4 separate regions of the Homo sapiens genome follow, and regions 1, 2 and 3 are each linked to region 4. The links are contacts of gene promoters, found by promoter capture Hi-C in human tissues and cell types (Jung and others, 2019). All regions are on one chromosome and are shown on one strand. The core of a region is centred on a gene start or on the middle of the fragment in contact, and the rest is flanking DNA. Distances in the headings are between cores, read along the strand shown.

Region 1 (2,980 bases), core at 305-2,804, 340 kb before region 4:
GTCTCTCTCTGTCATGCAGGCTGGAGTGCAGCGGTGCAATCTCGGCTCACTGCAACCTCCACCTCCCAGGTTCAAGCAATTCTCCTGCCTCAGCCTCCCGAGTGGCTAGGATTACAGAGGCCTGCCACCACGCCCAGCTAATTTTGTATTTTTAGTAGAGACAGGGTTTCACCATGTTGGCCAGGCTGGTCTCCAACTCCTGACCTCGTGATCTGCCCGCCTCGGCCTCCCAAAGTGCTGGGATTACAGACGTGAGCCACCGCGCCTGGCCTAACCCAACATTTCTTAATCCATATCCTAACAATTTAACTCATCTATGAAGCTCCCCAATGTTCAAAATACACAACCACTTTATACCAATTTTCCCTTCTTCTAAACTCAGTCTATCAATAGTTCCTGCACTTAACACAAGCTGCAACCTATATTCTGAAAGAACACAGGCCAGAAGTAACTTTCTGAAAAACCAAAAATACATTAAGAATGTGAATATGTTATGAAAATCACCAGAGCAAACAAAAGCTTCTTTATGCTTCAAAATAATTTTTTAGCCAAAAATATTCTAATACTAGACTGGCACTGCTCAAAGGTGGGAATACTGTGTCTCATTCACTATCTCTGCACTGATGCTTAGTACACGGTTTGCCATCTAACTGGTACTAAGCTACTGACTAAACCAATACCCTAAAAGAGGCTGTAAAATTATTGAATTTTAAAAACCAATATTAACAGTAATAACTTGCCCATTTTGTATGCATAGCAAATGACGAATATAAACTGTTTTCCAGTTTTTAGATCAATATAAATCAGGGAATGATGAAGATTAGCCCTTAAATTCCCACAGTAGAAATAACTACACTGTTAGGAACTGTACTTATGAACATCGAGTTGATCCTGCCCAAAAAAAAAATCGTTTTTAATTATTTATATGACTAGCCAAGCACTAAGAACTATATATCACATTTACAAAAGAGTTACAATTCACAATAATCTCTACTAAACAGAAGAGAAAAAACAGATTAGAGAGTTTAAGGAGCTTGGTCAACATCATACAGGGAGCAAGGATCAGATATGAATGCAAAGCAAAAATCTGTCTACAGCTTGTGCTCTTCACCGCTGTTCTATTCTGCATTGTAAAAAATATCCCCACAAAATTATATTGTGTGAAAGGCTTAAAATGTCAAAGAGACATTATTCTACTTAAACTAATCAATAGGCATAGTCAATACATTCAACACAAGACAACTCTTCTATCATACTTGAGAAAACTAATGGCTATCATGATATATGGTAAGGGCCATGTTGTCTACCTGAGAAAAACACCAAAAGAAACTATGGGAACAGACACCAAAAAAAGGATCTATCTATAAGCCAAATTCAAGAAATAATTCGAGCAGCAACTCCTATGGGGGCTGGAAGAGGTAACTGATCAGGGACGCAAAATCATTTGAGCATCATGGCCCAGCTGAAACTGGTGACCATTACCTGAGTAACAGAAGCAGTTTGCGAAGTGAACAGCTTCAGGTTTAGATAAGGAAAAATAAGCACATTGCACCCTGTCACTCCTCTTGAAAGCAACTAGAAAGCCTGAACAGAGTAACTGCAGAAGCTATTTGAGGACTCTGAAAAGTAAACAGTAGCAGGTGGATGAGGGAGGAATAGAATTCAAACCACCACCACATCAGCATATTTAAACAAGACCCAGAGTCTCCTCCTAACATAACATCCAAAAAGTCGGGGATACAATCCAAACTTACTCTGCACAGGAGGAACCAGGAAAACCTCAATTCCCATAGAAAAAGAAAATCAAGACAAGCCAATACTGAGATGACACAAAGGTCAGAATTATCTCACAAAGACTTTAAAACAGCTATTATACAAATAATCCTATAAACAAGCACACACACAATATACTTGCTATCACTAATTATCTTCCCTTTATCTCACCTCTCCACCAGAACTTCTCTATCCAAGATTACCAATGACCTCAATACTGCTAAATCCAATGGTCAATACTTAGATATTACTTCCTCTGTCAGCTGCAACTGACAGGTAATTATTCCTGCTTCCCTTCTCTTGCTTTCCAGGACACCATCTTCTCCTGGTTTTCTTCTTACCTCACAGGTGGTTTCTTTCCAGTCTCTACAGCTGTTCTTCCTCTTCTTGCAAACTTGTCAATTCTAGAGTTCCCCAAGACTCTGTCCTTTCTCTTATTTATGCTCACCTCCTAGGCAAGCTCACTTTAAAAGCTACCTTTATGCTAACTGTAGCTCAGATTTCTTCCAAAATCCCAACTTGAAAATCCAGTTGCCTGGTTGTTGTGCTAGACTGTTGTCAATTCTGCATCATTACCACCTTCTATATTCACCTGTGTGACATAGGGAAGCCAGAACTACATTTCCTACAAACCCCTTCCTGCTACAACTCAGGGTTAGAGTCAACTAATAAGGGCAACTCGTGCAAGACTGGTAAGATAAAAGAGCACACTACCCTCTGGAGGCAGCTGTAGGCTGATGTGCTGGGAGAAAAAAATAACTGACCTACTTCTGAAACTAAGACCTAGATAGAGCAGCTCCTACTAGGAATTCCCAGCAGCTTCGGAGAAACTCCAAGAACCATCCACTTCAACCACAGCAGCAGAGGCTTCAATTCTGAGACCTCTGCCCATCTCAGATGAGCTCCTGGGAAGTACACACTGTGAACAGCTGCTTCCTGGACCTTCAATTCTCCAACCCTTCCAACAGTAGTGAAGGACTATAATCCTGTGTATTTAAAAAAGTGTCTAGAGCAGCTTCTCTTTTCCTGAACAATTCCTCATGGATACACTATGCTGGGGACCAGCTTCTAGATCCTCAGAGAAGTGAAACATCAGTTAAGCGAATAAAAATGTCCAAGAGACATTTCAAAGCTCAGATATTGATCTTTCTCCTCCAAACCTTCTTTACACACTCTTCTCTATGTCAGTTCTTGGCAACTCTCTCCT
Region 2 (3,182 bases), core at 281-2,780, 430 kb before region 4:
TGAAGCTATAATACAACTTGTTAAGACATACAAAAAAGTTCCTGCACTCATCAAGTATTGCTTTATTACAGCACAATGCTGCTGATCATGATAAAGGATATTATCCCCAGCCTTCTCCATAAGCAAAGATAAATCGTAACATGTACCATATACAAAAACTGTCCAAAACCCAGTATATGCACACTGAGGATGTGTGCTGCTGTGCTGTGCTCCCCATACTGGTACCTGGCATGTGGCAGACCTCCCAGGGCACTGAGTGAATGAAGTGGTAGAGTCAATCTCTCTTTCAGACAACTCAATCCCAGGTACAAAGTTGTTTACCAAGCACAGGAAGTGGCAGAGAGAGGGACAAAGGAAAGGAGTAAACATGGTATCAAGAGAGAAAGCATCAACAGAGGACCAGGCTGGAAGAGTCAAAGACAGGTTCATAAAGATGATGAATTCTCATCAGGACAGGAAGGATGTTTGCAGCCTACAGACTCCTATGTGGAACTGACAGAGGCATAAAATGTCCTTCCTGGCTTTTTGATCCAAGCCCAGAATTCCTGACAGGGCCACTGTAAATGACAGTACCCTACCTACACAAGGATATCCAGCTGAGGGTGAAAAGAGTCCACGTTCTAGTCTTTAAACCTTGTGCTCTGGGGTGGGGAACTTGCCTAAAGGAAGGAGCACCTTTTAACAATTCTCTCAGAAGTGACTTCTGCAGCTTCTTGCCAACACACAAATCCATGAACTATAAAGGATGGAAGCTAGCACCTCTGTGAAATTCCCACAAAAGCTCCTGGTTCCCTGTCCAGCTCTGCCAGATCAACACCCAGTACGCACCAACACCAGTTATCCTTGGTAAACCACAGGTCAGTAAGTCTCCTTGCTCCACAGCTCACTGCTACTACCAATTCAAGAGGCGGCTCTCTCTTGTTAGAGCTGCGATCAGTGTCTACAGTGGTCTCTAGCCATCTGCCTCAGGTCACTTGGTCTACTAACCTTCCATAACCTGATGTTGAATATAAGGCAGTAAGGAACACAAATCATTTCTCATAATTGTCACCATTCACATCCTAAGAAAAAGCCCAGCTTCTCCAGTTGCCTTCTGTAGTGACCCCATGAAAAAGTCACTTCATCTCTGCTGAACTCACAGCACACATATAGGAGACCTGCAGCAAACCAGTCTCAAAGAGGCTTAGCCCAGAACTGTGGTATCTGTTAGGGAAAGGCAGGTTTCTGTCTTGGAGTTTCACGTAAGAGAGAGAATCTTATTCCATTCACTTGATCATGCTGCCTGAAGAGACTCAGAGTGACTTCAAAGTGTGGATCTGAGTGACACAGCCTTTGCATACAGTAGTACCTCATGAGCAAACCAGCTTTCAACTTTCACTCTCCATGAAACAGTGAAAAGCAATAAACACACAGATATTACCTTCTGTTTCATTTTTTGCTTTCTCATTACGCATCCATATCGTACTCTGTCCTACTGCTCATTCTCTAGCACCCTTATAAATTTCTCTGGATAGTGGCAAACATTATAAATATACAAAGTGCTTAAATATGTGGTGCTAAATGCATATACTCAGTAACTTAAGTAATTTTGAGAACTAAATATCTGGTCTGGATAACTCAACAAATAATTCTGAGAACTACGTATTTAGTGAGGAATGTAAACTCAACCAACCCTACAGTGCTGCCATATGGAAGTGCCCCATTTTCATATCACACACACGTACATTTAGAATAAAAATGACTGTCTCTAAAAGGATAATAGGACATGGGTTTTTAATATGCCACTAAAGGTACCAGAATTAAATTTAAATTTCTCATCGTGACTTTGAAGACACATCTATCTGGTCCTATGAAATACAAAACAATAATTGGCTACTCTGAAACCTGTCTCTCATAACCCAAGTGTCAGAAATACACAACTTTTCTGATTAAATTCTCATAGTAGACATTCATGGTAAAAGAATTCTTTTCAAGGTTAAAATAAAAGCCAGTGTTCACATCATGCCTGTATCTTATCAGGAACATAACATTAAATGTGCAAGGTCATTTTACTACTGATGAATAAAGATTTCCTTGTTCTGAGGGAGAAAGGAAGGTGTAAATAAAAATACTGCTATGAACATCCTTCTAGCTGTCATCAAAGGTATTTATGACCACTGCATAGAAACAGACAAAATTTCCTTTAACTGAAACATTTTGATAAGCACAACCAAACTTCCTGGCCATCAACAAAACTATACCAATTATACTTGATGCATAATGTTACAGAGTATCATTTATCTCACATTAATGAATAAAATTAATCTTATGATGATCAATTTAATGACCAAAAAAACTTCCACAGGTATTTTACTGTTGTTATGATGGTTTAATTTCCCTGATTACTCACTAGTGAGATGAGGCTATACTTTTGTTCATTTCTGAAAGTTTTTATTATTTTGCTTGGTTCCATTTAGCCACTTACCTTTTAGACAGTACTTTCAAACAAATGACCTTCACCACTGTTCGAAATAGGTCATGTGACTCTTTCCTCCATGTTCATTCTTTCATAAACTGTTCATTCATTTATTCATGAACATCTGAAGTGCCTACTACATGCATGATGCTAGTGACACAATAACGGTTAAGATGCAATTCTGACCCTCAGAAGTCTTAAAGAGTCTCACAGGAGAAAGACATGACAATGAACATGTGCAAATGAGTATTAAGTGGTTTGTGGGGAGGAGGGGACAAAAAGGGATATTTTATATTTTTAGCTATAGTCTCACACTTAATTTTCAGATTTATTACTAGAAGAGATATCTGAAGCAACACACATTGTTGACACTGTTTATCTCCTTACTGCTTCCTAAGAATTACCAAATATAATCATCATTACTGATTCTTCTATAGTATAGTGTTTCTTTTTCTCATTGTGTTTCTCTTTCAGATACTCTTCAGCTTTAGAAAACCAAGGGATTCCTACCATTCTTCTTGGAGGCTTTCATCATTGGGTTATCAAAAAGAAAGATCCAGAAATTCAAATCCTGTTCTCCAACACCTAGTACGTTTCCTCCTCTTGGTCCAGTCATAAACTAGGAGTCCTTCTAAAAGTCTTCCAAGACAAAGAATGTACTTTTTTATCTTGGTGGTCCACAGTCACTGTATTAGTTCCCTATTACCTCTGTAATAAATCACCACAA
Region 3 (2,993 bases), core at 152-2,651, 410 kb before region 4:
CTGCTGACTACACTTTACTGAGTCCTGGCTCAGCCAGGCTGCCCAGTTTAAATCACTGTAGGCAAGAGAGCAAATGTGGACTGGAATGGGAGAGAAGATGGAATGTCAATAATTGCTGCTCAGCTGTCTACAACTTTAGGTCTCCCTTTAATTAACATAGGAAACATATCAAGGGTTCTCAGTGCCTAACTGTTTCTTCTCCTCTTGAAGAAATAGGGCAGTTCCAAGTCCAGATGTGAAGAAAAAAGTGTTACTAACCTCTGGAGTTAAGCTCCAAGGTTCAACCCACAACCTGATGTAAATGCTACATAATGCAGCACATACAAAAAAGGGAAAAAAATGCAACGAACATAATAAACACCCTACTCTTTACTCCAGAATTCCCTCATTTATAATTACTGTACATGTTAAGATCCCACCAAGATAACTACCTCATTATGCTTAAAGTACACTGACCCTTTAATAAAACTTGAGACATTTGCTGAAGCTGTAAAGGGGAGGGAGAGTGGTGAGGGAGGGTGTTGAAAGAAGAGTAGCTCACTGTTAGAACATGAGAGAATAAGCAAAGGAATGCAAATTGAGACAGCTAAATCAAAAGAAATTATGACCTAACTTGAAGAGCTTTAAGAATCTGGGTAATATTTCTAGTTAAAGTGACTCCTTAAACTAAACTGGTATAAAAGTTATCTTCTCCATCATTTTGGTATTTTCTATAACGCTTGAGTTTATTTTCCCATAAAAAGTCTAACCTAAATTTCCTGATTTTACTAGACAAAGCAGCTAACATGAAATTACTTAATGTTTAATATGCCCTTTTTCCAATGTAACTTTGATACACTTTCTGTTAATAAGTGGAATCTGTATTCCCTCTCCTTGAATCTGGGTGGGCTTCTGACTCTGGCTAAGGGACTTTCTAGGCTAGGAAATAAAAGGCAATTACCAAAAGAAAAATAAACCAAAAAGAGTTGACCAAGATTCCCTCGGTTTTCTTGGAACTCAGCCACTATACTGATTACTACAGAAATACAAAGACTCTTACAGAGACTATTGTGAACAACATTTGCTAACAAATTTGAAAAGCTGGAATAAATTGATAAATTCTTGGACACATACAACCTATCAAGATTGAATCATGAAGAAACAAGAAAACCTCAATAAGCCAATTGATGAATTTTACAAAAAACATTTTAAGAAGTAATACCAATTCTACTGCAAACTCTTCTACTCAAAAATATTGAAGAGGGGAGAATATTTCCAAAATCATTTTACAAGGGCAGTATTACCTTTACAACAAAACCAGACAACAATGCAACAAAAAAAGAAAACTACAGGCCAATATCACTGAGGAACGTAAACACAAATATCCTCAACAAAATACTAGCAAACTGAATTAAACAACACATTCAAAAGATCAATTACCATGATTAAGTAGGATTCATCCCAGAGATGCAAGGAGAGTTCAACATATGCAAATCAATAAATGTGATATATCACATTAACAGAACAAAGAAGAAAAAACCATATGGTCTCATCTCAATAGATGAAGAAAAAGCATTTGATAAAATTCAACATCTCTTCATGATAAAAATTCCCAAAAAATAGGGTACAGAAGGAATATATCTCAAAATAATAAAAGGCCATATATGACAAATCCACAAACTAACATCGAGCTGAGGGAAAATGTGAAGGCCTTTCCTCTGCGATCTGAAACAATACAAGGATGCCCACTCTCACCACTTTTATTCAACATAGTACTGAAAGTCCTGGCCAGAGCAATTAGACAAGAGAAATAAAAGGCACCCGAATCGACAAGGAAGATGTCAAATTAGTTTCGTTGACAGATGACATGATCTTATAACCCAAAGACTTCACCAAAAAGCTTTAAGAACTGATAAATTCAGTAAAGTAGCAGGATGCAAAAACCAACATATGAAAAGAAGTAGCATTTATATACACCAACAACGAACAATGTATAAAATAAATCAAGAAAGCAATCACATTTACAACAGCTACAAAAAATATCAAATACCTAGGAGTCAATTTAACCAAAGAAGTAAATGATCAACATAAGGAAAACTATAAAACATTGGTGAAAGAAATTGAAGAGGGGCTGGGTGTGGTGGCTCATGCCTGTAATCCCAGCACTTTGGGAGGTCAAGGCAGGCGTATCACTAGAGGCCAGGAGTTCATGACCAGCCTCACCAACATGGCGAAACCCCATCTCTACTAAAATTACAAAAATTTGCCAGGCATGGTATCACATGCCTGTAATCCCAGCTACTCGAGAAGCTGAGCCATCAGAACAGCTTGAACCCGGGAGGTGGGGGATGCAGTGAGCCGAGATCGTGCCACTGCATTCCAGCCTGGGTGACAAAGTGAGACTGTCTCAAAAAGAGAGAAAAAAAAGGAAGAAATTGAAGAGGACACACATACACAAGTTGAAAAATATTTCATGTTAAAGGATTGGAAAAATTAATATTGTTAAAATGACAACAATACCCAAAGCAATTTACAGATTCAATGGAATCCCTATCAAAATACCAATGACATTCTTCGCAGAAATAGGAAAAAAAAAATCCTAAAATTTATATGGAACCACAAAAGACCCTGAATAGCCAAAGCAATCCTGAGCAAAAAGAACAAAGCTGGAGACATTACACTACCTGACTTCAAAAATTACAATAAGCTATAGTAACCAAATCAGCATGGTACAGGCATAAAAACACACAGGGCAATGAAACAGAATGGAGATCTCAAATATAAATCCATACATTTACAACCAATTCATTTTTGACAAAGCCTCCAACCTCCAAGATCATGCAGTGGGGAAATGATAGTTCCTTTAATACCTGGTGCCGAGAAAACTGGATAACTGTATGCAGGAGAATGAAATTACATCTCTCTCTCTCTCTCTCTCACCATACACAAAATAGCAAATCCACATGGAATTAAAGACTCAACTCTAAGACCTGAAACTATGGAATTACTGTAAG
Region 4 (3,081 bases), core at 16-2,515:
ACTCCATCAGTGACCCGCACTGGAGAGACACAAACACCTCAGGCTCCTTAGGAGGTCAAGCGGCCCTTCCCAGCCCTCCCTAGCCCCCGCCTTCTAGAATCATTCTGAATAGCTAACCAGGAGGCTGGGCCCCGTGTGGATCCGCCTCCGCTGGAAAAGCCGCTGCTGGAAGTGCTCCAATCCAGAGCAGGATACCTGGGGGAGGAACGGGTTAAGCGCAAAGGGGAAAGGGGCAGCGGGTGCTGAGACGCAGAAGGTGCGGGGACTTCTACAGAGCAGGGAATCTGGGCCCGGATGAACTGATGCCCTGGCCTCTTTCCTCCAGGGACAAGGTCGGTCTCAGGAAATCAAGGTATCTTCAAAGGGACACAAGGGAGCGCAGTGCCGATGAGACCGGGGCAGAGCCACAGTCTGGCGGTGCAGGCTGGGGGTCCGAGGCGGGGGACACTGGCTAGCAGTGCTGCCAGGGTCGTGTGTGCACTGGGCAGAGGGAAAGGAGGGGAAGAAGGGAAGGGGAAGAAGGGGAAGAAGGGAGTGTGTTCGGTTGGGAGGACCGGTCCAGACAGAGGGGAGAGGGGGCCACTTCGCGAGTGGTGTATCGCTGGTTGAATTCTCATAAGTTAGAGATAGCAGGCAGGGGTTAGAAGGACAAGACAGGGTCAGGACCAGGAGTTAGAGGCGCCAGGCTCCTCTCTGGGTAGAGAAACCGAGGAACTGGGGGCGGGGAGGACTGATGGGTGCGAAAGCGGGCCGGGTCCAAATGAAGGCGCGCGCCCCGGGGTGGGGGCCGGGGTGGGGGGAATGAGGGAGGCTGCAGGGCTGGGGACCAGGGCAGGTGCAATCCGGAAAGAGGAGGCGGGAAGGAATTGGGGGGCCCTGAGGAGCCAGCGCAAGCCGGGTGGGGGCACGTCCCCTCCCCCGGAGAAGGTGCGGGGCTGGGGCTGCGGCGCGGACCCGACCTGGAGGCCGAGGCTGTGCGGGAGGTGGGGGTGGGGAGGCTGCAGGTGCCCGGCGCCCAGGTGCGAGGTGCAGGGGGCGGCGGGGCAGGCGGCTGCGGGCGGCAGGCCACTCACCTGTCTCCTCCGGCCGGGGCCGCGGGGGCGGCGGGGCGGCCGGGCCGGGCCGGGCAGGGGCTACGGGGGCGCGGAGCCCCGGGCGCACCGGGGTCGGGAGGCGGCTGCGGGTCCGGGCGGGGGCTGCTCCCTCGGCCGGCCGGCCGGGCGGTCAGTCAGCGACGCGGGCGCGGAGAGAGCGCTGCGAGGCTGCGGCCGGCGCGCGGAGACAACGCCGCTTTATCGGGTCGGAAACAGCCGCTCCGCGCCGCTTCCGCTGACGCAGCGCCGGCCCCTGCGCCTCATGACTATGCAGCACCCGCCGCCGCGGGACGGGGATTCGGGGGGCGGGGTCTGCGCCGCGCGCGCTCATTGGCCTCCGCTGCCGCCCACCCCGCCCCCGAACGGCCGCCCCGCCCCCGCCGCGCCCCTGCCCCGCCCCCGCGCGCACCGTGGCTCCCGCCCCCGTCTCGCCATGGCCCCGCCCCCAGCCATAATCCAGCCCCGCCCCCGCCCTCCTCCCGCTACGCCCCCGGCCCCGGCCCCGGCCCCGGCCCCTCCGCACCGAGCGTCCGCCCTCTCTCCCCTAAAGCGCTGGCCCGCAATCCACCCCATCCCTCTCTGCAGCCGCAGGAGGTGGCCCCCGCCTGTCCCCACCTTCTCTCCCCGCTCCTCTCGCCACTCTGTCGCAGAGGGGTCCGGCTAGCCACGAGGCCCCGGCCCCCGGCAGCCCAGCCCCTTGGCAAGCACCCTCCCGCCCCCTCCGCCCCTGCCCGTGGCGCGGCGACATGGGCCCCATCCAGGTGCTGCAGCCCCTCCTCCGCTGCAGGAGAAAACTCTCCTGTTTTCCCCTCCCTGCCACCCTCCGAAGACCTCCTACCTGGTCCCGGACCACGCCCCCGTCCCCAACTCCCCCAACGCCCCGCGCTCTGCGGGTCCCCTCTCCAACCTGGAGAGCGGGGCAGGACGAAGACCCGACCCGGAGCTTCCTGGAGGCTGGGCCTCCCTCTCAGGCTTGGCCCTGGCCAGGGACACTGATCCGTCTCTCCCCACGTGTAGAAGGGCCACAATCCCTAGGGCAGGACTGCTGGGAAACCCCATCAAGACAAGGTCTGGGGAGGCGGCTTTAACAGACAGATGTGATGGGCTGAGGCCAACCCTGTTAACGTCGCAGCCCTGCACCCTTGCCAGGGTTTAAGTTGCTTTGGAGGAATTACTTCATTTCTCAGAACCTTGGCGTCCTCATCTGTAAAATAGAAATCGTAAGATCCATCTCACCTGTTGCTAAAGGAATTTAGAAGTGAAGTGCAGAGCAGAGCCTCCAAGAGCATCGGAAATGGGAAAATCTGACCATATCAAGTGTTGACAAGGAAATGGAGCAACTGGAACTGCCAGACACTGTTGGTGGACATGCAAAGTGGTACAACTTTCAAAATCTTTTTGAAAGGCCTTGATTACCCAGCAATTCTGCTCCTAGATACACACCTAACATTGTGTTTCTGTTGATAGCAGCAGTGTTTATAATTGCCCCAAACTGGAAACTACTGAAATGCTCATCAGCCGTTAAATGGATACATAAATTGTGATATATTCACACAGTGGAATGACAGCAATGACAGTGAATAATCAACTACACACAACAACATGGATGACTCTCACAAATGATGTTGAGGAAAAGAAGCCAGAGGATAAAAAGCCATATTTGTTTCCATGTGGATAAAGTGGTAGAAGGTGTATATGGGGGTAGCAGTCAGGATAGTGGTTACCCTTGGAGGGAGGGGTGCCAGAGCCAGGAAGCAGGGCACAGAGGACGTGTCTGGGGGCTGGCTGTGTTCTGTGTCTTGGTCTGAGTGCTGGTTACAGTGTGCTCAGTTTATGATGACTTTTCCAGCTGTGCAGTCAAGATGCATGTGCCTGTGGGGCACGGTGATTCACGCCTGTAATTCTAACACTTTGGAAGGCCAAAGCGGGTGGATTGCTTGAGCCCAGGAGTTTGAGACCAGCCTGAGCAACATGGTAAGACCCTATC

The links. The method cuts DNA at HindIII sites, captures the fragments that hold promoters and counts their contacts. A contact is called where the count stands out against the background at its distance.
Region 1: a fragment that was not itself captured here is called in contact with the fragment with the promoter of SLC45A4 in region 4 in 1 of the 25 tissues and cell types used here (lymphoblastoid cells).
Region 2: a contact is called between a fragment that was not itself captured here and the fragment with the promoter of SLC45A4 in region 4, in 2 of the 25 tissues and cell types used here (dorsolateral prefrontal cortex and lymphoblastoid cells).
Region 3: a contact is called between a fragment that was not itself captured here and the fragment with the promoter of SLC45A4 in region 4, in 1 of the 25 tissues and cell types used here (lymphoblastoid cells).

The regions. Positions count from the first base shown.
Region 1 is chr8:140,967,487-140,970,466 of GRCh38, forward strand. All of the region lies in intron 1 of PTK2 (protein tyrosine kinase 2), which reads right to left. Among named protein-coding and RNA genes, the nearest start is that of PTK2, 32 kb to the right of the region's middle. The HindIII fragment of the contact is 4,557 bases long and covers 1-2,980 here.
Region 2 is chr8:140,880,638-140,883,819 of GRCh38, forward strand. The region is part of intron 3 of PTK2 (protein tyrosine kinase 2); the gene reads right to left. Among named protein-coding and RNA genes, the nearest start is that of PTK2, 120 kb to the right of the region's middle. The HindIII fragment of the contact is 9,970 bases long and covers 1-3,182 here.
Region 3 is chr8:140,898,332-140,901,324 of GRCh38, forward strand. The region is part of intron 2 of PTK2 (protein tyrosine kinase 2); the gene reads right to left. Among named protein-coding and RNA genes, the nearest start is that of PTK2, 100 kb to the right of the region's middle. The HindIII fragment of the contact is 9,283 bases long and covers 1-2,993 here.
Region 4 is chr8:141,307,023-141,310,103 of GRCh38, forward strand. SLC45A4 (solute carrier family 45 member 4) reads right to left here and starts at 1,266. Exons shown (of 9, transcript NM_001286646.2): 1 at 1,074-1,266. RefSeq lists silencers at 1,142-1,241, 1,262-1,501. The HindIII fragment of the contact is 10,784 bases long and covers 1-3,081 here.